5 separate regions of the Homo sapiens genome follow, and regions 2, 3, 4 and 5 are each linked to region 1. The links are contacts of gene promoters, found by promoter capture Hi-C in blood cells and fetal thymus (Javierre and others, 2016). All regions are on one chromosome and are shown on one strand. Each heading gives the region's core, a stretch centred on a gene start or on the middle of the fragment in contact. The rest is flanking DNA. Distances are from core to core; before and after follow the strand shown. Region 1 holds the start of RNF20 (ring finger protein 20). Region 2 has its middle 24 kb from the start of CT70. Region 3 holds the start of TRMO (tRNA methyltransferase O). Region 4 overlaps CT70 (cancer/testis associated transcript 70). Region 5 holds the start of NIPSNAP3B (nipsnap homolog 3B).

Region 1 (4,831 bases), core at 993-3,492:
ATTAAAGTGTCAATTGCTGACTAGGACTTTGGCTTGGGAAATGGAACTTAGTATTTAAGACAATCCTTGGAGATTGGGGTGAAATCAGTTTTCCCTAAGACTTAATGGAATCAAAGTGCTATATGGATACATGAAAAAAATCCTGGTTCTGCTAAGGTGAGGGAAGGGGAATAGCTGTTGGGTAGATCACCAATAATGTCCACCAGACACTTACGTAGTACCAGCAATTGATTTATCACAATGTAACACACAAGTGATGATACTCAAATTAAACTATACTAGTGCTAAGGAACCAGTAAAGATTAGTGGGGATTATGGTAAACAAGAATAACATGATCTATTAATAAAAGAGAGCCACGCCAAGCGTGGTGGCTCATTGCCAGTAGCTGTGGCTCAGGCCTGTAATCTCAGCACTTTGGGAGGCTGAGGTGGATGGATCGTCCGAGGTCAGGAGTTTGAGACCGGCCTAGCCAACATGGCGAAACCCCATCTCTACTAAAAATACAAAAATTAGCCAGGTGTGGTGGCGTGTGCCTGTGATCCCACCCACTTGGGAGGCTGAGGCATGGGAATTGCTTGAACCTGTGAGGTGGAGTTTGCAGTGAGCCGAGATTGTGCCACTGCACTCCAGCCTGGGTGACAGAGTAAGACTCTGTCTCGAAAAAAAGAAAAAAAAAAAAAAAGAAGAAGCCACTACTTTGCTCTAAGCAATGTGACCATGCAAAAATATAACCCTTCTGTTGCAAGATCATCAACATTTTTTAGAGAAACTGATAATTTGGATTTTTATGTAAAATAGCCATATTTTAAATGTTGGCAACTAAGTTCATTTTTGTTCTTGTTTTTAACCACGCAGGACAGCCAATACTGTCTAAAATAAACAAAGCATAACTGTTGGCTAAATGCAGTCTGTGAACCTCTAGTTTTCTGGGCTAGAAAAACCATTACTTGCCATTCAGTAGTTCTATGAATGAAAGGCTTGCTAAGAGTAGAGGAACCAAAGAAGATGAGAGAATGAGTGTCATTGTCTCATACAATGCTTTTCGGCAGGTGTGTCCCCACTCACATGTTCTCAGGCTCCCACTTCACGGAATGAAATGTGAAGTCCACTTGGGGCCAGTTAATTCTTTCCAAGATAGTCAAGGTGTTCCACTGCCAGGCACCAGGAACACTTGTTTCCCTGGTGTTGACCATCTTACTTCATTTACAGGTAAGCCCTAGCAGGTACAGGGACAAAAGTCTTCACACTAACAGAAATCCAGTGTAGATTAGCTTCTTTTTTTCCCAAGATGCCTAAATTCTATTTTTTAAAAAAGATATAGCGATCATTCTTCCATTTCTAGACCCTTAGCTGACGTCATTAGGTAGTTTATCATAGTTCTGCGAGACATACAGCTTTTCATTAATAGGTTAGATTAATTACCGTCCTATCATTAAAACGCATTTAGTTTAACTGAATGGAAAATAGCAGTTTGTCATAAACTTAAAAAAAAAAATCAATGCTTAATTAGCTTAAAATAGACTAGTACTGAGATCAGAGACTGATTGGCGTTTATCTTTTCCCTGGACAATTTCTTGTTCCCAAAAAAGCACAAGGGCAGTAGTTGTCACTCCTGCTTACGCATTAGAATCTAGTGGATGGAAATGCGGGGTTTGGGGGGAGGAGATGAGGGGAACGCTTTTTTAAAAAAGCTTTTGTCCAGGCCAAGTGATTCTAATGTGTAGACAGGGCAGAATACCGCTCCCTGTGCGGGGGAAAAAATCCCCAACATCTGAAATTCCTCAAATCCCTCAGATTCTCTCCAGAACTCTTCATTTCAGCACGTAGGGGTACCAACGAACAATTTTCTGAGGTGTCTGAGGCTAGTCATGTCCCCGGAGATTGACGGGACCGTCAGCCAATCGGCCGTCTGAACGAGTGATGGCAACCCCAATGACAAGCAACAGAATGAGGAACTTTATCCCCGCAGAAAGACCAGATCGCAGTAGCAAAGGTCAACAAGTCAACAAAAGCCAAGGGCTCTCCGTCAGGCATCAGCGAGGCCCGAGTACTCTTAGAGGTCGTAGCCAGGAGAGGGTCCCGCGCTTGCCCAGCGTTGCTAGGGAGGCGGCGCTTGCTCAAGCTTCTCGTGCCCTCTCCGTACGTCACTTCCGCCCGGCGGGGTCTCATAGTCCTATGGGCTGGGTTGAAGCCACTTCCTTTTTTCTTTCCCTTTTTCCTCTCCGTGGCCCCGCCTCCCGGAAGTTCTGCCTTGTCTCCGCCGCGGGTCAGGGGTGAGAGCTGGAATCTCTGCACGGGCCTTGGTGAGTAACTGCTGCGAGTTCTGTTCCCGCGCGGCGCCAGTTCAAAGAACTTAGGTTAGATCACGCTTAGGGCCCAACAGGACTGTGCCAGGCCTCAGGAGTCTCCACCCTCTCCAGTTTTGGGGCCGTCAGTCTCCTGGGCCTGCAATTATCCACGCTGAGGCTGAGGTCTTTGGCTTTTAGCGAGTTGGATTGCAGCCTTGTTCTGCTTCTGTGTCTTCTCTCTCCAGGCGAGGTCCTACTGAGGTTGTTGCCAGCGATAGTCCTCTCCTGGAGCTTGAATTGGAAGCAGAGTAGTCTTGTTAGTCTCGGTGATGGCTGCGTTGTTTCCTGAAGTAGCCAAAGTGCTTTAGCATCCATTCCGCCTCCTTTGAGCACCCTGGGAGGTAGGCAGGGCAGACGAAAAATATATTCGTTAATATTGTGCAGTTGAGGAAACTGAAGCTCTTGGCGAATTCACTGTTTCAAAGCAACACGGCCTCTAACAGGCAGAACTGAAATTCGCACCCAGGTCTAACTAACGTAGGGTTGCATAAAACAGTGGAGAGAGCGTTTGGAAATAGGGAAAACACTGCAAACGTTAAAGAAGAGCTGGGGTTTCTGAGTGCTTACTTTGTGTTCGGCTTTGTGCCAAATTCTTTCTATAATTATATCATCCATTTTATTTTATAATAAGCATAGGAAGTATATACTGTGGTTATTTATTCCTGGGTTAGGAAACTGAGGCTTAGAGATGATAACTGACTTGTCTAGTACTAATGACTTTAGTAGGCATTTCACAGATCTCTTTCAGCTCTGTGATTCTTTCAACACTGTAGTATTAACTTCTGGCATAATCAAACTGCCCTTTTCTGATTTTGGCATTACAGGAAGAGAGATTCCAGAACTTTATTTTTGGTCTCTTCACCCTTTGCCCATTGTCTCATTTCTTATCACCATTCTTATCACCATCCTATTTAGAAATTTATAGTCATGTAAATTTAGCCTTGACTTTCTTTTTTTTTTTTTTTTGAGACGGAGTCCCGCTCTGTTGCCCAGGCTGGAGTGCTGTGGTGCGATCTCGGCTCACTGCAAGCTCCGCCTCCCGGGTTCAAGTGATTCTCCTGCCTTAGCCTCCCGAGTAGCTGGGACTACCGGCGCCCGCCACCACGCCTGGCTAATTTTTTGTATTTTTAGTAGAGACGGGGTTTCACCGTGTTAGGCAGGATGGTCTCGATCTTCTGACCTCTTGATCCGCCCGCCTCGGCCTCCCAAAGTGCTGGGATTACAGACATGAGCCACCGCGCCCGGCCCGCCTTGACTTTTACTCTACAATTTAATTTTTTTTTTTTTTCCTCAAAGAGAAATATGGAGATGGTTGTGGAATTAATGGATCCAGGTTAAAGGGTTGGCCAGAAAAGTTGCTAGTTTTTACTCTATTGTTTTACTCTATTGTTGCTTTGCTTACATATATTATGTCAGTTTCTGCCTTTTTTTCTATCAGGAAAACGACTGTCTTCTTCTGCCAAAATGTCAGGAATTGGAAATAAAAGAGCAGCTGGAGAACCTGGCACCTCCATGCCTCCTGAGAAGAAGGCAGCTGTTGAAGATTCAGGGACCACAGTGGAAACAATTAAGCTAGGAGGTGTCTCTTCAACGGTATGAGGAAACAGTGCCATGAAAGTGTGCTTGTCTTCTGTCAGTTGCAACTTGAAACTAAAAATTCATGGAAGCTTTCTGGAGTATGGGGAAGCTATTTGAAAAGAAGAGGGAAATAAAACAGGCTGAAAGTAGGTAAAATGATGTGGTAGTCAGTTCTAGAGGAGAGGTAGATTGATAGTTGTTCTTTGTTTTCAAGGTGTACTTATATTCTTTCGAGAATCTGGGAAGGTGGTGCCTGATACAACATTAACTATAGGTATTTAGCAGTGGGAAGATACACATTTATTTTTCATTCACTGAAAAAGTCAGTACCAGATTCTAAGAGACAGTTTAGCAATCATTGAGAGTATGGTGAAGAGTGAGAGTCTGAGACCAGATTGCCTGGAGTTGACTCTGAGCTGTACCACTTCCTAGCTGGCTGACCTTGTGTTATCCTTCCTTTGCCTGTTTTCTTGTCTGTAAAATGTAATTAGAGTACCTGCTACATTAGATTTTTATGCATATAAAATAAGAGTCCCTGTTAAGGGCTAACACTTTGCATTTAATATAGTAAATAGTCAATAAATGGGAGGCATTCATAGCTAATATTGGGCTAGATAATATAATGGTGCATAACATAGATATTATCCTTGCTCTTATGGAGCTGACAAAATGAGTATTATATACCAAAATCTCATAGTAATGTTATATATCTGTTAGACATCAGAAGTTTACAGGTTTTGATCTACGTCAAGATTTTGCTTTTTTGAAAATCAGACATGGGGATGTGATATTAAAATGTTTTACATTTTGTAAAATGCTTTACATTTGTATGGCTTGCAAAACCACATCTATTGCTTATTTGATTTTGAGGCTGAGGTTTATTTTAGAGAGGCTGATTTTTTTT
Region 2 (4,864 bases), core at 1,572-4,071, 3.4 Mb after region 1:
TTGTCTTATTGATGTATATAATGTTAAATGTTCTGAACACTAATCCTTTGTCTCTCTTTGAGTTATAAGTATCTTTCTAGTCTGTGCCTTGTCTTTTCACTTTCATGTTTTCTATTGTTAATGTACAGAAGTTTTGTGTGCTTACTTGTTTTTGTTTGTTTGTTTGTTTGTTTGTTTTCTGAGGCGGAGTCTCACTCTGTTGCCCAGGCTGAAGTGCAGTGGTGCGATCTCGGCTCACTGCAACCTCCGCCTCCCAGGTTCAAGCGATTCTCCTGCCTCAGCCTCCCAAGTAGCTGGGATTACAAGCACCCACCACCATGCCCAGCTAATTTTTTGTATTTTTAGTAGAGATGGGGTTTCACCACATTGGCCAGGCTGGTCTCAAACTCCTGACCTCAAGTGATCCGCCTGCCTTGGCCTCCCAAAGTGCTGGGATTATAGGCTTGAGCCACTGTGCCCGGCCTATGATTTTCAATGAAGTTTTGTATTTTGCTCTGTAAAGCTTTTGCATGTCTTTTTTTTTTTTAACCACTGTAAGTGGTATCTTTTATCAAATTAATGTTGGTCCTTTGTTGGTGGTGATAGAAATAAAATTGATTATTGTACAATTGCAGTTTTTTCTCCCAGCTGTTCTCACTTAAAAGGGTTAGTAATTTGTTAGTTATCTTGAAATTTTCTTGTACACAATAACATTGTCTTATATCTTACAACTTCTTGTCTTACTGCGGGTGGAGGGGGGGCTAGGACTTGATAAATTAAATGTATAATAGAAAAGCAAGTAGCCAGAAGGCTTGTTCTATTCCTGATTATAAAGAGAACTTCTGGCCCAGAGCAGTGGCTCACACCTATAATCCCAGCACTTTGGGAGGCCGAGGCGGGGAGATCACTTGAGGCCAGGAGTTCCAGACCAGTTTGGCCAAAATAGAGAAACTTCAACAATTAGTCTGGCATGGTGGCCCATGCCTGTAATCCCAGCTATTTGGAAGGCTGAGGCATGAGAGAATCACTTGAATCTGGGAGGCAGAGTTTGCAGTGAGCTAAGATCCCACCAATGCACTCTAGCCTGGGCAACAGAGTGAGACTCCATCTCAAAAAAAAAAAAAAAGAAGAACATTTGAGAATCACGCCTATAATCCTAGCACTTTGGGAGGCTGAGGCCAGTGGATCACAAGGTCAGGAGTTTGAGACGAGCCTGGCCAACATGGTGAAAGCCCGTCTCTACTAAAGATACAAAAAATCACACAGGTGTGGTGGCGTGCATCTGTAATCTCAGATACTCAGGAGGCTGAGGCAGGAGAATCACTTGAACCCAGGAGGTGGAGCCGAGATCGCGCCATTGCACTCCAGCCTGAGCAACAGGGCGAGACTGTATCTCAAAAAAAAAAAAAAAAAAAGGAAAAATCTAAATATTACTAAATATCGCAAGTATTGCTTCCTCCCTTTTAATGTTTCACAGTGTATGGGGGGTTTGTTCAGAACACAATAGCTGCTCTAGTGATCAAAATCACTATACATCAACTATTATTTCAATTTTTCAGTATGCCTATTGCTGGGCTGCCCCACACAAAGAACAAATAAAAAATTATGTATCTTGTTAACTTTTGCCAAGTTGGCCAATTTCATGTTATCCATAAATGCCACACTAAAGAGAGTGAACACACACATGGTCATAAAACAGCAGGCTGAAGCTAACTCCAAAAACAAAGAAAAAATCCAACGCTAAACCATTCTGCATTTAAGTTCCCAAATGACTCCCATGGAGGCCCTTAAATTGTATTTGTTTGGAAAAAACAAACAAACAAAAACAAAAGGAGTTCATCGTTAGCATGTGGAGGATGTTCATTAGCGGCTGTAAGAAATCACGGTCTAAACTACACCGTTCAAGAAACCCACTACAGTCGTGCAGACCAATAGCACTATTCTAGAAGGTAGCTATCCCTCGTGCCCTCTAAGAACCATCGTTTTGCATCGTTAGCAAGAAGCAAAGAGTAGATCTTAAACCTCTTTAAACTTCTCTGCGTCCTATTCAAAAATTAGGATACCACTTAACTCTGCACTTTAAAAAAGGATTTCAAGTGTGCTGCATTTTAAAGACACTTCATTACAAAAGTTAGAAAATTAAAGTATAAAACTTATCAAAACAAGTTTTTACGTTTTCAGGATGATTCACTGCAGAATTTCTTTAAACAGACTCCCCTCTTTTTTGTGTGTTGAGTCTTTAGGGAAAATAAGTGATAGTAAACATCAACCACAGACACCTGCAAACTAGGAAAAAAAATAGGGTTGCTTGGACATGGTAGGGAAAATAATTTATTTTCACAGAAATTTAGCCGGGCGCGGTGGCTCACGCCTGTAATCCCTGCACTTTGGGAGCTCAAGGTGGGTGGATCACCTGAGGTCAGGAGTTCAAGACCAGCCTTGCTGACATGGTGAAACCCAGTCTCTACTAAAAATACAAAAATTAGCTGGGTGGTAGTGGCACGCGCCTGTAATACCAGCTACTTGGGAGGCTGAAGCAGGAGACTCTCTTGAGCCTGGGAGGCAGAGGTTGCGGTGAGCCGAGATCGCGCCACTGCACTCCAGCCTGGGCAACAGGGTGAGACTACGTCTCAAAAAAAAAAAAAAAAAAAAAAAAAAAGAAGAAGAAATTTAACATACAGGCGATTTTTCAGGTTCTCATTTGCTAAACCAACAATGCAGAATTTGTGAAGTAGGGGCAACAAGTTGCTGAACCTGAGAGACGCCTCTAAATGCGCTCAGAGGTTATTTCAACTGTGCTGTTTGCTAGTTCAGGTACAACAGGCAAGACAGAAAGATGCCACCGCTCTCTCCACCCTCCCAGCGCCGGATCACAGAGCGCAGACCATGCACCCAGCCTTCCACACACGTCGCGATCTCGCCGCTTTAAGCTGCTGGGTACCCTCGGCCCGCCCACAAGAAGGCGGGGCGGCGCGGGGTCTGCTGGGAGTTGTAGTTTCGGGCCGGGCCCGAGAGCTTCTTGACTCGTTTCCTTCTACCCCCACCGCCGCACAGCTGCCTATGGACTCTGGAGTTGCTGTGTATTGAGCATGGGGCACAGCCGGGGGTAAAAGGGGAGAAGGCTCCTTTAATCTGCGGATCGGGGCGCCGTTGATGAGTGTTAGAGGTGTTGGAACGCAGAGTAAGCGGCGCGCATGCGCGGCTGCCGGAGGTGGGGGCCGCTCCTCCCGTGCCACTCAGGGGCTGGCTGCTGCCTTAGGGCTGACTGGGCTCATAGGTAGGGCCTGCGGTGCAAGTTTGTGATAACACTGCCTGTAGGCTGCGGTTGTTAAGGCAGAGATTTGAAGGGGGTCGGTTGGGGGTGCTGGGTAGTGTCAGTAATCAAGGGTTTTAATCGCTACTCCATCCTGGCTTTCGGGAACCTCCCACCTCCTACCCTTTCCCAGTTTGCAGAATTGCAGCTTTCCCCATCCCCCACCCCGATCGCTTCGTGGGAAGCCTTTCCATACTGTGTTGTGAAATCCGTTAGACCTCAGCCAAGGCCTTTTAGCCCGCCCGGAATTCAAGCTGCCCCCTCCTTGCCAAATCCAGATCATGCGAGACAACAAAAGGCTTGAGGCACAAGCCCTACAAGGCAGTGCCCCTGCCAGTTCTCCTAAACTTATTGTTTACCCTGCCCTCTTCTTCCCCTGCAAATTCAGACAGCCAGGCGATAGATTAGATAAATAGATTCCATGTCCTTACATTTGCAACAGGCTTTCATAGATTCCTTTGCTCTGGAAGGTGGCATCATTATACAAAAGGACAAGTGAGAACACACGAATGTAATCAGTGGCAGAACCCTGGGACTGAACCCTACAGGAGTTCTAAGTCTATTGTTTCTCCTACCACTTCACAAATGTGTCAGAAAGAGCTGAATGAGGTGACCAGCTGCACCTGACGCTAGCTGGCTTTCGGAATGCTCAGGCCCTGGGCCCTTGGCTCACCACAACCACTCTTAAATTGACTAACAATTGCCCCTTAGTGAGTGACCTCTCCAGCAAGCCCGGAGGATTTTGCCCAGGGTAATGTTTCACATTGAGCACATACTTTGTGCTGGGCCCTGGAAAGGATGTACATCAGATCTTAAGTTAAAAGTTTCCTTTCCCCCAGGGAGACCAGGCTGTCCTATCAAGTATTCTGTATTTCCCAAAGGATAGTATTAGCCACACTTTGTTATATGATTGCTTGTTTGCCTGTTTTCTTTTCTTTTCTTTCTTTATTTCTTTGAGACAGGGTCTCCCTCTGTCACCCAGGTTGAAGTGCAGTGGTGCGATCATAGCTCACTGCAAGTTCAGACTCCTGGGCTCAAGCGATCCTTCTCCCACCTCAGCCTCTGGAGTAGCTGGAAGTACAGGCGTGCACCACCATGCCCAGCTAATTAAAAAAAAAAAATTTAGAGGAGGTCTCACAATGTTACTCAGGCTGATTTCAAACTTCTGGGCTCAAGTGATCCTCCTGCTTCAACGTCCCAAAGTTCTGGAATTACAGACACGAGCCACCCTACCTGGCCTGCCTGCCTTGCTTGAGAAGCTGCAGCACTATTTTGTTCACCATTGTATTAGCAGTGCTAACATATAGTGGCCTTTTCATACATGTCAAATAGACATATAAATGATGAATGCATGAGTCCAGTGTCTGACCTTCATGTCTGTGCCCAGAGTCTGTTGGGAGAGGTGGAGATGAAAATAGAGGTAGGCTGGGCACAGTGGCTCACACTTGTAATCCCAGCACTTTGGGAGGCCGAGGCGGGCAGATCATGAGGTCAAGAGATGGAGACCATCCTGGCCAACATGGTGAAACCCTGTCTCTACTAAAAATACAAAATTAGCTGGGCATGGTGGCA
Region 3 (4,871 bases), core at 1-2,500, 3.6 Mb before region 1:
AAGCACATCACGTGGTCTCCGCAGCACGTGACCCGTGCCTTCGCCGTAGGTAAAAGAATGACGCACGTCAGTTCCAGATCGTGCGTTTTACACCCCTCTCGGCAACGAAGTCCGCTGCCTGGGCCTAAACCTCTCCAGAGTGTGGCACCGCCGGTGTTGGAAGTTACCTGTCTCCAGAGCCGGCTTAACGCAGCCGCACGGGGTCGCTGTAGGCCGAGGCCCCGACTCCTCCAAGCCGCGCATGGCTACTGGTTGCTGAGGTGCCCACCCGACGCATTCAACCTTCCGCTTCCGCTCTCCATGCCTGACGCATGCGCAGTGGCCTCGCCGGCGAGGTCCCGCGAACCCAGGAGAATGTGCGCGCGCAGGGTGGCGTTGAGGGAAGCTTTGAGTTCTCCATGGGGCTTCGAACCCTATCCCGGGCGTGTGCCCCTCCGGGACCCCAATCTCGTTTATCTTACACACAGCTGCTACAGTTGCCCGCCCTCCTAGGGTAGAATGCGACTCCGGCTTCCCGCGCTTTTTGAGAGGGAACACACCTCCATGAAGAACTCGCAACTATGTCTCTCTCGAAACATTATTAAGTAACCTATACGTCCAGTATGACCCTAATTTTTAAGGGATGTGTATATGTAATTAACACAGAGCGGAAGGACTGGACGTTAAGAAATGTTAAGAATTCTCAGGCACCTGTGGTCCCAGCTACCCAGGAGATTGAGGCGGGAGGATCGCTTGAGCCCAGGAGTTTGAGGCTGCAGTGAACCGTGATCGCGCCACTGCACTCCAGCCTGGGTGACAGAGCGAGACCTCGTATCAAAAAAAAAAAAAAAAAAAAAAAAAAAAAAAAAAAAAAAATTATCCCTGGGTGGTGGGAAATTTTTCCATAATATAAGTTATGCTTTGTCAGAAACAACCCCAAATAAGTCTTATTTCAAGTGTGGTGGATGTTATAAAGGAGCCCTACTATGTGCTAGGGGTTAAGGAGTGGGAACTGTTTCTTGTGCTCCACACCTTACCGGAACTGAAGTGAGAATGGAATTATAAGAGTCAACATGCCATGTGCATTGTGGGGATTATTGTCGTTTCTGGACAGCTCTGAGAAGCTAAGAGCTAACAAGAATCATTTAATCCCATGCAATGACCAGTTGTCCTTGCAATGATAGCCTATCTTTTACCCACTTGTAATGCTGTCTCTCACCTTTAGTAAGTTTCTCTGTATATAATTCTCTTTCTGGGAGAAATTTTAAAATCTTTTATCTTTTTATCTGTTAACATCTGCAGTATAAAATATTCAAAAGCATATGAGTCACAGATTGAAAAGTCTAACAACCATGAAAAGATGTTTCCATGTCTGTCCATTTGTCATTGATTTCTGGTAGAAAATAACCAGCAGGAGGAGCCAAATAATTAAAGATTGTGGTTTAAAAAATAAGATAAAACTGATCAAATTCATATAGTGTCTTTTGGCAGGTCATTTTTACAGGACAACTTGGAAAAGGCTGCCATTTTTTTTAGGAGGGACAGCTCTGTGCAGCTGGAGAAACAAGTTTGAAAATCATTGTTTTATATATATATAGCGCGCGCGCGTGTGTGTGTATGTGTGTGTTTATAAAACTGGGCCAGAATTACTGCGCTTGCCACTAGATGGTGGTGTTGCTAAAAATGATAGTCCCGCTTTATCTGTGGAAAGACTAGATTTAAAGAGATATTTGCCCTCCTGGAGGGCATGGTAGACGTTGTTAATCACACAAAAAAATATGTAATTACCAAGTGTGACAAGTACTGAAATGCAAAGCTGATTTGAATATACTAGGGAAATAGATTGCTACTTCTTTTATAGGTAAAATTTCTCTTGACTGAAAACGGGAACTTAAATATGCAGCACATTTTTTAGTCTATGATTTGAAGTTCTTATTATCTTGTCTGGAATTATATGTGATTATTTGCAGTTTATAAGACTTAACCTCTCCTCCAGATGTAAGACCTAGAAATCTGCCTTAAAGAAATGACCTAAATAATTATGTAGTCTTCAGCTTGTACTACTTTGAGAAACACTTCTCAGTAGAGTGATTCTTAACCTCTCATTTGGGTGAAGGACCCCTTTGAGAATCAACTAAAGCTTTGAACCGTCCCACACATCATTTTGGCTATAATATCATATGGTTCATGGGTTTCTAACCTAACATGAGAGGAGGGCAGCACAAAGTCAAGCTAGAAGGATTCTTGCAAAACTTTAATTCTGTCACCTAAAGGTTCTAAGCCAAGAAGAACGCCAGAAGAATTTTAGATGCACAGTGATGTTTAAACAAGAATGGTGAGAAAGCAGAAGTGGTGTGTGAATGCAGGGAGTGATGTAAGAGGGCAAGCAGAAAGGGTCCCGAGAGGTGGAGAGAGAAATTCTGCTTCCTCTAATGTACTGCATTCCTCTTTCCCTCTCCTTCCCCATCTCATCTTTGTGCTCCTGTGCACTGTACGTATGCAAATCTCTTAAGGTCCATCTTAATGCAACGCTGTTAGAACTTGAGACTTCAGTTTACTCTTTTTTTTCCTCTAATTTTGGCCCACTCTGGCAGGTGAAATTGAGACAGAAGCACATTCCAAAGAAGAAAAAAAAGCACTGAGGAAGTCAGATGTGACTTTGGGTGAGTACCTTCCCTCTATGTTATTCCCTCATCTTTAAGTGAGAGTGATAATCACCGCCTGGCCTATTTCACATACTTTTGTACAGATCAAATAAAATAGTTTATGTGAAAGTATAAATGTTGAAGTGTCATTGAGAGGTAAGAAACTATTATATGGTTGTGGCCGGGCGCGGTGGCTCACTCCTGTAATCCCAGCACTTTGGGAGGCCGAGGAGGATCACGAGGTCAGGAGATTGAGACCATCCTGGCTAACATGGTGAAACCCCGTCTACTAAAAATACAAAAAAAAAAAAAAAATAGCCAAGCGTGGTGGCGGGCGCCTGTAGTCCCAGCTAGTCGGGAGGCTGAGGCAGGAGAATGTCGTGAACCCAGGAGGCGGAGCTTGCAGTGAGCCGAGATGGTGCCACTGCACTCCAGCCTGGGCGACAGAGTGAGACTCCGTCTCAAAAAAAAAAAAAAAAAAAAGAGACGAAACTATTATGTGGTTGTGCTGCCCTGCCCTCAGTATGTTGTGTAATAAATATAATAGGGGTATGAATAATTGTGCAATGAATACATCCTGATGGTAAAAAATTTAATGTACACACAAAAGGGGGTAGGCAGATAGGAGGGAAACAATATTGTAACATCCCACTGTACTATTGGTTCTCAACCCTACCTCCACTTTAGGATTGTCAGGAGAGCTTTTAAAATAAAAACATCCTAAATGCAATTCTATATCCTGGATTGGACCCTGAAGCAGACAAAGCACATTAGTGGAAAAATTCATGAAAACGGAATAATGTCTGTAGTTAATGGTAGTGTAACTATCCTGATTTCTTAGTTTTGACAAATGGCCCATGGTTATGTAAGACGTTAACATTGGTGTAAACTGGGCGAAAGGTATATAGTAACTTTTGTACTATCATGACAACTTTTCTGTAATTCTAAAATTATTCCTCCAAAAACTATTATTTGAAGCATAAAACAATTAAAAAATAAATATACCTATGCCTGTACATCAGCTAGATGGGGGAATCTGAATCCCTGGGGGAGAAGTCTGGACATATATGTATTTTTGAAACCTTCCCAGGTGAGTCTAATGTACCAGAAGGGTTGAAAGAACCACTGCTCTCTCATGTTCATTATACCATGAATGCCTGAGGGACTGTGACCCTGTCTTGTTCTTTGATATAGCTAGTACCTAGCACAGTGTCTATATGGAAAGCTTGTGCAAGTGTGTTCTTGCTGAATGAAACTTTATTTGCAAAAATATCCTTAGTCCTCTGTAATAACAGAAGGAAAAGTGAAAACAAAAAATACCAGGGTAGATTTTCAGACATCTTCCCATCCAGAACAGCTTCTATTCCTGCCCCGGTCTCTTGTCGTTTTCAGTTAATCTTTACCATTATCACCATATTTACCATATTCCTAAAATAGTGAAATTGCCATTCCATTGTTCAAAAATCTGACTTCATTCCCCATTTTTAACAAGTGATATATTTCTTGGTTAGGTAAGCAAAATATTCTATGCTCTAGTAATATGAGCTTTTCAGCATGCAAGCCTACTACTATTTCATATGGACTCTACATTAACCATAGTTTGCCTGCAGTTCTCTTGAACATGTTTTGAACTCACCCTTCTCTTTGTCACATACAGTAATGCTGCTATCCTCATCTATGCAAATACTTTCCGTCTTTCAAGGCTTCATGCCTGTGTAATTTTTTCAGGTCACTCCAGCAAAAAGTGAGCATTCTCTGTTTGTATCTACCATTCAAATGGCACCAGCCCTTACTATTTTCTTTTGTGATTATTTGTTTTCTGTTTTATTTCCCCATGAAACCAAATTAACCCCACCGTGGGGTGTTAGATAGGTCTTCTAACCTCCGCAATTCTTAACATGATGGTATCCACACAGTTAAGCATGTAATAATGATTTAATGTACATTGTGCACAAATACAATATTTAAAAAATAAAAATAGAAAATCAAAATTCAAATACAAAAGTAAACTACATTCATCACTCCAAAATATCTTTTAAGGAGAATTGTTAAAACTGACCAAAAGAGTCAACTAAAGCCTGAATAAAATTTTGATGCTACTGTTACATTAATAATTGAACAGCATTTACAAGAAAACTATATACTCCACAAAATGTATGTGTTCAGTCTTAGTCACTTATCTGCTCTTAAGACGTAAATAAATGTTCTTAGGGGGGAAAACCAATTATCCAGTCCTCCCCGCTTCCT
Region 4 (4,908 bases), core at 1,842-4,341, 3.5 Mb after region 1:
AGACGTGGGAGTCTTGTAGGTAAAGTGATGGTTGGGCTTCTGTGTGCCAGTTGGCTCCTTAAGGAAGTGAATGTGAGACAGGAAAATAGGGAGTTAGGGTAACCAAGGGTTAAGATATTTGTTATGTTACAAATGGCAAAAGAACAGCAGGTGCAGCCAGTTCTAGGCAAGATTAGGCAGCATACAGGCCACATCCTCACTCTTGCGATAACAAGATAGAAGTTTCCACTTTAGCCTCGGATTGACCACAGGCCAAGTCTCCACTTCAGCCTCTGATTGGCCACAGGCCAGGTCTTCATAGGGTGTAACCAGTTGGAGGCCTCTAAAGGGTACCTAGGGGTGTTACCAAATTCTTTTAGTTTAATAAAAACTCTAAAGAACATGGCAACCCTGCCGTGCTTGGTGGCTCATGCCTGTAATCCCAGCTCCTTGGGAGGCTGAGGTGGGCGGATCACTTGAGGCCAGGAGTTGGAGACCAGCCTGGCCAACATGGTGAAACCCCATCTCTACCAACAACAACAACAATAAAAAAACAGAAATTAGCCTGGTGTGGTGGTGCACACCTGTGATCCCAGCTACTCGAGAGGCTGAGGCAGGAGAATCACTTAAACTGGGAGGCGGATGTTGCAGTGAGCTGAGATCACACCACTGCACTCCATCCTGGATGACAGAGTGAGACTCCATCTCAAGTAGAAGAACATTGTAGTTGGGGCTCTAGAGCCGCTTGCTGGAGCCTGCTCCCACTCTGTGGAGTATGAACTTTCACTTCAATAAATCTGCACTTTCATTGTTTCTGTCTTCTCTCATTGCTTCATTCTTTTGTTGCTTTGTGCATTTTGTTCAATTCTTTGTTCAATGTGCCAAGAACCTAGACAACTCACAGTCAAGACTTTCCATCCTGTAACAAATGCAGAGGTGGCCAGAAAGCTGAGTGCTTCAACTCAGGGATGAGAGTGGAAGAAATTGCCAGAAAATAATTAGGAACAAGCGAAAGAAAAGCACTTGGAAAGAAAGCAGTCTTGAAAACAAACTTTAAAAGAGTATCAGTGAAATACAGATCCAATTACCCTGCCCTGTGGACCAGGCAGTCCTTAATCCTCACAACAACCTTGAGTGGTAGGATCTATGATTCCCATTTCACGTGATGAAACCGAGCTTCAGAGATGATGGCTTGCCAAGATCACACACTAAATACTGACATAGCTCACTATAACATCTTGTAGAGATCTGACTAGTTTACAAAGCATGATTAAATGCATTATCTAATTTAAGCCTCACAATTACTTTGTAAAGTAAACAGAAAGTGGCTGTTAATTTTGCAAGTAAAGAATTCCAGGACTTTTGATTCTCAGTCCAGTGTTGTTTTGTTTTTCTCTCATTTTTCTTCCCTTATTTCTTGACACATTGATGATAATGAAGAATAGATGTGAGTACAGGATTCCTCAAACCTGAATTTAACTGTGTTTGTGAGGGTCCAGCTCAGGGACAGACATTCAGTAAACCCTCCAATGATAACTGATATTGTTGTTTTTCTTATAATTACAACTATTGGCTTTGTTCAATAAAGCAATATTTATAAAAGTAATTTATTAGAATGAGAAGTACAGAAACCAAAAATGGAGGGGAAATTTGAATGAAGATACGATGTCAGAAATGAGGGAAGGAACTCTAAATAATACTTCGGAGCCTGAACTTTGGAGTTAGACAAGTTGAGTTCACATGCCAGCCCTGCTGCTTATCAGAATGGGGAGTTTGGGCAAAGTGGCTAACAGCCCATCGCCTCCACTTCCTCATCTTCAAGGCTGCCACTTCACGAGATATTATTATGAAGATTGAAAGAGATAAAGTACATAAGATGCTAGCCCAATGCTCAGAATAAATATTTAATAATTACAGCTATTATTAAATCCTGGTTATGGATGGAAGAGTGGACTTGGTAAAAGTCCAAGCCGCAGCAGGTTTGAGAATAAAATAACCTACATTGACTGCTTTGAGTGTTTATCAGTTTGTAGACTTCATTTATATCAACTTTAAAAAGGATAATCTCTCTTCCTCAGGCCCACTGTTTTTACACTCTGATTATAATTAACTTGCCTCTTAATGACACTGCATTCATGACTGATGTTTCCCAGTTGTAGGTTTTTTAATTCCTATATTTCTCATAAACGTATTTGGTAACTGAATCTAGCAAATGAGTACAAAACAAAGAGTCATAGCCCTTTACCTTTAATGTCTATGAAGTGAAAGAGATCAAAGGGGAAACTCTGAACTTACTGTCTCATTTATGAGAAGCTTTGGAACAATTTATGAAGGCGACAGATGTTCTGCTTCCTAGAACCTTTTTGTTCCATCCCCAAATCTATATTTTCCTTTAGTATATTGATTTCTTGTTACAGAGCAGGAATAGCTATTAAATATCTTTATTTGGAAGCTTGGGGGTGCCAGAATGTGAGAGGAAAAATGCATCAGTAGCTAAGGGACAGTTGATGGGGTGGGTGCAGGAGGGCCCAAGAGAAGGTAATCTGTGTCTGGGAAATTATTTACAATTTGAAAGGCACAGAGACTTGCCAGAGGAAGAAAAGAGGGAGCAAATGAGAGAAGCATCCAATCACGCTGAGCCCTTTGATGGATGAGGAAGATACTTTAAAAGATGAGAAAGCACTTTCCCTATCAGCCAGATGGCTCATCTAATCTCTCTTTGTAGCTAGCAGCAGAGGGGAAAGATCCAGTGTAAAAAATTATGGAATATCTGTTGGGAATAAGCTGATGCAAACCAATCACAAATCGAAGTGTTTTTCTTTTCAGTTTTGATGAGGGGACACTGATTTCTATTTGGGGGTGGGACTGGATTTTGACTACCAAAATGTAGCTGGAAATTGAGTTGATTGATTATGAACAATGTTCCAAACACTGTTTCTCTCAGCAATGCAAATAACATTTCTGTGGTGTATTTATAGTTTCAAAGCATCCTCACCTGCATTCTCTGATTTTATCTTATAAATAGCCCTGTGAGGTAGGTGTCATTATCCTCATTTTATACTTGAGATAAGTGAGGCTTACAGAAATTAATTAACAACAGTCTCCAAACTTGGGTCTGTTTTACTATACTAGCTTTCTTTGGGTCTTCCAACAAATGGCAATCTATGGCCACAGTTCCCACAAACAGCTTTCTTTTTTTTTTTTTTTTTTTTTTGGTGGGGGGAGGGGCGGGGGGCATCTCTGCCAAGCATCTCCTAGATTTCCATAATGTTTTTCCCTCCAAGCCAATTCCATGATCCTTGGCATCTCTCAAAGGCCTGAAGAGGCCACCTGAGGTTGCCTGGAGGGTGAGTGCTAGGAGTGGAAAAGGGTGGCACAGTCCTATGAGCCACTAAGCTACTGCTTCCCTTGGCTTTGGGGGACGCGGTGTCCTGGTGACATCACTGTCCCCTTGCAGTGCCCTCTCTTGTATCCCCTTAGAGCTCCTGGGCTGCCTTCCAGCCATCCTAAGTATCCCATCCCTTCAAAGTCTGTTTACTTCCATCCCCCTCAGGACATCTCAGCCAGGAAAGCAATCACTTTTTGCACATTACTATCTCCTTAAGATAATTTCTAGCTTAGAGAACAAACAGCCAGGGAAGACAATGTCTTCCTTGGCCACACTGGACATGCTCCATGGGCAGAAAGCCTCCAGGCTTGAAGCTACTTCTCCACTTCCTCCCCTCCTGATAACTTCCTGGCCTGTTGGAACCTCTTCCACAGTCGGTGGTCAATAAGCTTAAAATTGTGCCTACACCCAGAGGACAGGGAGTCTTGCATCAGCTTGGCAGTGCAGAGTAACGCCAGCTATAGTTGCAGAGACCACAATAGTTATTAGTTAGAATATACATGTGCCTGTATTTGAACTTTGGTATCACCACTTGCTAACTGTGGTACGTTCTCTGTGACTCAGTGTATGCATTTTTCAAGTGGGGTAATAATATTACATATAGAGTTATAATGAGGATTAAAAGTGTTGTATATGTAAAGTGCTTAGAATTGTTCTGGCATAAAAAAAACTCCATAAGGATTCAATCAATTAAATTGTTTAAATTCCACTTTTTGAAGTGCCTACTCTATGCTAGGTTCTTTACATCTGAAATTCAGATGCCAGCTGGAGTTATCCTGACCCCTCAGATGGAAATAAGTGGTTAAGACCTCCTTTTCTATGGATTATGGTAAACCAAATAATCTTCCCAAGCCTTCTTTGAATTCCAAAGGGTTCCTTATATTTCTTGATTAGCTCAGGCTCCCAACACCAGCTTCTTCAGAATTATTCTCGTAAGGGATTGTTTTGCTGTAGTCCACATTGTATCTCACAGATGTTTAACTCAAATTAATACTCACAGGAAACTTATAGAGGCGTTCACGTATGTAGTGACATTTATTAAAGTTTGGAAAAAAGGAGGTTTTACATTACAAAAAAACCGTCAATTTTATTTTATTTATTTATATATATTTTTTGAGATGGAGTTTCGCTCTTGTTGCCCAGGCTGGAATGCAATGGTGAGATCTCGGCTCACCACAATCTCCGCCTCCCAGAACCCAATCAATTTTAAATTCAGTATCAGTCATCTCTATTCTTTAAGGCCTTGGACCAGGTCCACATTTTAAGATCTGGCCTCCTGCTGAATTCCTTAATCTTTCTCTCTCTTCCTTTTTCCTAGTGTCTCAGTCCATTCAGGCTGCCATACCAAAATATCTTATGCTGGGTAATTTATAAACAATAGAAATTTGTTGCTCACAGTTCTGGGGGCTGAGAAGTCCAAGATCGTGGTGCCAGCATGGTCATGTTCAGATGAGGGCCCACTTTCTGATTCATAGATGGTACCTTCTCACTGTATCCTAACAAGGTGGAAGGGACAAATAAGCTCCCTTAGTCCTTTTTAT
Region 5 (4,625 bases), core at 9-2,508, 3.2 Mb after region 1:
CCACAGAAGGAAGGCAACACATACTCTCCATAACTGAAAATGCAAGAAATAGCAGAAAATGACTATTATTTAAAAATACGGGCCAGGCGCAGTGGCTCGTGCCTGTAATCCCAGCACTTAGGGAGGCTGAGCCGAGAGGATCACCTGAGGTCAGGAGTTCAAGACCAGCCTGCCCAACATGGTGAAACGCCGTCTCTACTAAAAATAGAAAAATTAGCCAGGTGTCGTGGCGTGCGCCTGTAATTCCAGCTACTCAGGAGGCTGAGGCAGGAGAATCTCTTGAAACCGGGAGGCGGAGGTTGCAGTGAGCCAAGATCATGCCACTGCACCCCAGCCTGAGCGACAGAGCAAGACTCTGTCTCAAAAAAATAAAAAACATACGGAAACAGGTATTAGAAGAACAGCTTAAAATGTTGAAGGTGGTTAGTCTGGGGACCAGTACTCTGGGACTGGGAGGACTAGACCAGAGGTCGGCTGTTTTGCTCTTAAGGCTTACAGAACGATCTAGTTTCAAACTATCTATGTTTAACTTCGACTTTTTCCTATCAGGCTCGGTGCTGCTATTCCACTGAGCTCATGGAAAATTAAATCTTTATTAGGAGCCTTCCAAGATCACAGTGGGGTGGCAATGGGGACAGATAATGCAGAAAAGCGAAGGCTCACTGGTCTACAAATACACGTCTATCACAACCTGTAAAAGTTAACCCTGTCCCAGCCTGGCCAATATGGTGAAACTCCGTCTCTACTAAAAAATACAAAAATTAGCGGGGCGTGGTGGCGGGCGCCTGTAGTCCCAGCTACTGGGGAGGCTGAAGCAGGAGAATGGCGTGAACCCGGGAGGCGGAGCTTGCAGTGAGGCGACATCGCGCCAGTGCACTCCAGCCTGGGCGACAGAGCAAGACTACGTCTCAAACAAAGAAACAAGTTAACCCTGTCAACATCTCGACTTTAAATGCAAAGCACTGCACATGCACACGCTGAACACCTCCCCTTCCTTCTCCAGGGGCAACACAAGCACAACCGCCGCACATTTACGAATCTACACAACTGCGCATCGGAGCGAATGAGGTCAGGGCCCAGAAAGGTGGGGCAGGAACGATCCCAGCCTTCAGCTAATTCTGTCACCTCTAACGTCTGGGGCAAGAACGTTTCAGGAAACCAAGGGGGACCGAGGCTCAGCGCCGAAGAGAAAGACGCCAACTGCGGGACCTGTCGCGCCTCCCGCGCCGGGGTGGAGCTGACCCCGCCGAGTCCCGCCCCTGCCTGAGTTCGCCAGTGGTCCAGGAGCCGCTTTTTTCCACTCGGGAAGACTTCAGAGAAGTCTCACAAAGGACTCGGCTGGCTGCTTTTCTCAGTGCCGAAGCCGCGCCATGCTCGTTCTCAGAAGCGGCCTGACCAAGGCGCTTGCCTCACGGACGCTCGCGCCTCAGGTACTGGCCGCGGGGGCGCGCCCGAGCCCTGGCCGGAGGGGAGGGGAGGGGCGGGGGGTATTTCTGAAGCGTGCGAGCCACGCTCAGGCGCTCCCAGACCTGGGGCCCCGCGCCGCCGCCGAAGTTCTAACGCGGTCTCTGGAGCCGTCTGGCGCGCAAGGAGGAGGCTACAGGCCGGGGTCGTCTCGCTGGCAGTCGCTGTCAGAGGGGTTTTCTAACTGGATGCCAGTGTTTTTGTGATTTTTGTTTTTGTTTTTGAGACGGAGTCTCGCTCTGTCGCCCAGGCTGGAGTGCAGTGGCGTAGTCTCGGCTCAGTGCAACCTCCGCCTCCCGGGTTCAAGCGATTCTCCTGCCTCATCCTCCGGAGTAGGTGGAATTACAGGCGCCAGCCACCACGCCCGGCTAATTTTTTTTGTGTTTACTATTTAGTAGAGTCGGGGGTTTCACCATGTTGGTCAGGCTGGTCTCGAACTCCTGACCTCGTGATCCGCCCACCTTGGCCTCCCAAAGTGCTGGATTGCAGGCATGAGCCACTGTGCCCAGCCTGATGCCAGCTGTTTCTAGCCTAAATGCCACAACTCCCGGGACACCCCCGTGGCGCCAGCTGTTGCGTTTTTTTAGGATAACATCTCCAGATACAAATCTCCGAAAATCAACTTTAAAAGCAGTTATTAGAAATACCTCATTGGCCCATTTTCCGAGATAATAATATTTTTAAACTGTAGATACTAAGCAGTTTTTTATTTTCAGAATTTGATTAAACTGACCCAAAAAGAATGGCCATCAAAAGAAAGGATAGTTGCAGGTATTTTTTGGTATGAAGAAGGGTTTTCTAAGAAAACTAAGACACTTGGGCAATAAGGGCATAACTCATACTGGAGATGAATGAACTCAAGATAGACAATTATAATTAAGACGTTATGCACACAAACTACATAGACATTTGCATGTTGTAACCAAAAATATGTCAGTGAAAGATGCCTACTGAAACTGTTGCGATAGATTATTCTGGGTAGTGAGCCTCAGGAAATTGTCACATGCTAACCATGCCTAAATGAATGGATTTGTAAACTAGAATGCCACGGGAGTGGTCTGTGTATACACGTGTGTTTACATAAATATTTGCATGTACGTACATACAGACAGACTGGATAATTTCTGACAGGGCATTTGCTACTGAACATTAAGCTCACTCAGGCTCAGAGGGCCAGATTAGGACAGAAAATTTACCCATTGGGCATATGACTATTACAAAGGGTGGTTCTTAAAGGATAGTTCCATAAACTTGGTATAATTGAGTGCACTAAATGTACATACTTCTTGATATTGCATCTGTAATTAGAAACAATGATGGAGACAATTCTCATTTGTTGAGTTTTTTTCCTTTTCAGCCTTTATGCAGTATACACCCATAGTACAATGCAATTGGATAAGTTATAGCTTCCTTTTATATTAGTTACATTCCAGTCCTGTTTTTGACCGGTAGTCTTCATCAGTAGATTCAGGAAATACTTTGACCTGAATAGCCCTTCCTGTTTTTTTAGGAACCTTTTAAAAACAAGAGTTTTTTGTTAGTAAACGTATTTTTGGGCCTGCCAAAAGGCATGTGTACTTAATAAATTTTTTTCAATGTGTGGAACTAATACATATGGTATTGAGTAAGATGGAATATTGGCTAAACAGGGGAAAACCCTTTGTAAATTAAAGAGACTAAGTCTTAAATGTAGTTCTTCGGTAAAGGAGTATCATTATGATCCCACAGCCTTCTTGTGAGCAAATTCTCGTGAAAAAATGGCTAGAGGTAGACCCCTGCTAGGAAACAGTTGCTATATATTCATCAGAATTAAGAGTAGTTATCTTTATTGACATCTCTATGTAAACAAGTGTATATGGAGAATTGACAACAAAAGTAAACAATGGATAATGAGTCTATGTGTGTTCCTTGTACCAGACTCAGATTTGGTTGTAACCAAATCTGTAATTGTACCTTCCCAAGATATTTACATTTGTCTTACCTCCTTCAGGTGTGTTCATCTTTTGCTACGGGCCCTAGACAATACGATGGAACGTTCTATGAATTTCGTACTTATTACCTTAAACCTTCAAATATGAATGCGTTCATGGAAAATCTTAAGAAAAACATTCATCTTCGGACCTCTTACTCTGAATTGGTTGGATTCTGGAGTGTAGAATTTGGAGGCAGAACGAATAAAGTGTTTCATATTTGGAAGTATGGTAAAGAGTCATCCAGTTTTAGTATTCAGTATAGATTTTCATTCTGTTAAATGTAACATAAGACTTAGTTCTTGGATCTATATTACCATAGATACATACAGGTTAAGTAAGACTTTTTAAAAGCAATACCAAAAAAATAAATTTAGCAGATCTTCTTCCCAGTGGTACACCTCTAACCACCCCTTGCTTGAACTCTTATGTTATCATAAATGAGAAAACATGCAGTCTCATATATCAAACCATAAAATTGTGAATTAGACTTTAATCCTCAGAAAAATGTTAGAATCGTTTGCTATAAAGATAGCTCATGAAAAATTTAAAGCAGTAATTGTAAATGTTCAAGTGGGTTAAGATCACCGTTGGGCCTGCCAAAAGACATGTATATTTAATAAAAATGTTTTAAATGTGTAACTAATGTATATGGTATTGACGAAGATGGAATACTGGCTAAATAAGGGAGAAAGCTTTGTAAATTTATGAGACTCCTAATTGCAGTTCTTGGGTAAAGGAGTGTCATTAGGATAAGATAATTTTTTTTTTCTTATTATTGTTACAGCTAGGGCTGGATATCAGCATTTTTGCAGAAATAATTCACCCATTTGGGAGCTTTATAAAAATGGAGGTTTTTAAAGGATGATAGTTAACTTTTAAGCGTCACCCAACTCTGAGATTTAATAATTCTGTTATGTTTAGAGACCACTTCTTTTTTCATTTCTGTACCCCAGAGTTTCAAGGAATTCTTTCATACTACCCTAGGGAGGTAAGGAAAAGGAATGAGAGACAGTCCTTCCCATATTGAAGCTGACCTACCCCTGGTTTAGTAGAGGAAAGAGAACAAGTAACAAGAATCCCCAGAATGTTTGTTACTTCCATGTCTGTTCTTAACAGTCCACATCAGGACTTGAGGATACCTAAAGAACTTTTAATAATTTCATTTACTGTTTAGTGATCAGTGTCCAA

What was found. The method cuts DNA at HindIII sites, captures the fragments that hold promoters and counts their contacts. A CHiCAGO score of 5 or more calls a contact.
Region 2: a contact is called between a fragment that was not itself captured here and the fragment with the promoter of RNF20 in region 1, in 1 of 17 cell types (total CD4 T cells). The highest score is 7.0, in total CD4 T cells.
Region 3: a contact is called between a fragment that was not itself captured here and the fragment with the promoter of RNF20 in region 1, in 1 of 17 cell types (fetal thymus). The highest score is 7.4, in fetal thymus.
Region 4: a contact is called between a fragment that was not itself captured here and the fragment with the promoter of RNF20 in region 1, in 1 of 17 cell types (activated CD4 T cells). The highest score is 9.9, in activated CD4 T cells.
Region 5: a contact is called between the fragment with the promoter of NIPSNAP3B here and the fragment with the promoter of RNF20 in region 1, in 15 of 17 cell types (total B cells, non-activated CD4 T cells, M0 macrophages and 12 more). The highest score is 31.0, in total B cells.

Annotation. Positions count from the first base shown.
Region 1 is chr9:101,531,611-101,536,441 of GRCh38, forward strand. It overlaps RNF20 (ring finger protein 20), which reads left to right and starts at 2,243. Exons shown (of 20, transcript NM_019592.7): 1 at 2,243-2,304; 2 at 3,788-3,942. The coding sequence starts at 3,814. It also overlaps a transcript of PGAP4 not described here. RefSeq lists an enhancer at 1,985-2,114. The HindIII fragment of the contact is 1,893 bases long and covers 2,122-4,014 here.
Region 2 is chr9:104,965,378-104,970,241 of GRCh38, forward strand. No RefSeq gene overlaps it. Among named protein-coding and RNA genes, the nearest start is that of CT70, 24 kb to the right of the region's middle. RefSeq lists enhancers at 2,783-2,832, 2,913-2,962. The HindIII fragment of the contact is 4,642 bases long and covers 501-4,864 here.
Region 3 is chr9:97,922,251-97,927,121 of GRCh38, forward strand. It overlaps TRMO (tRNA methyltransferase O), which reads right to left and starts at 250. Exons shown (of 5, transcript NM_016481.5): 1 at 168-250. The coding sequence starts at 243. It overlaps HEMGN (hemogen), which reads right to left. Exons shown (of 4, transcript NM_197978.3): 4 at 4,541-4,871. RefSeq lists an enhancer at 1-302. The HindIII fragment of the contact is 1,734 bases long and covers 384-2,117 here.
Region 4 is chr9:104,982,551-104,987,458 of GRCh38, forward strand. It overlaps CT70 (cancer/testis associated transcript 70), which reads right to left. Exons shown (of 4, transcript NR_184160.1): 3 at 4,764-4,863. Among named protein-coding and RNA genes, the nearest start is that of CT70, 6.8 kb to the right of the region's middle. The HindIII fragment of the contact is 1,325 bases long and covers 2,430-3,754 here.
Region 5 is chr9:104,762,871-104,767,495 of GRCh38, forward strand. NIPSNAP3B (nipsnap homolog 3B) reads left to right here and starts at 1,259. Exons shown (of 6, transcript NM_018376.4): 1 at 1,259-1,430; 2 at 3,455-3,665. The coding sequence starts at 1,371. RefSeq lists silencers at 988-1,187, 1,385-1,574. The HindIII fragment of the contact is 4,394 bases long and covers 1-4,127 here.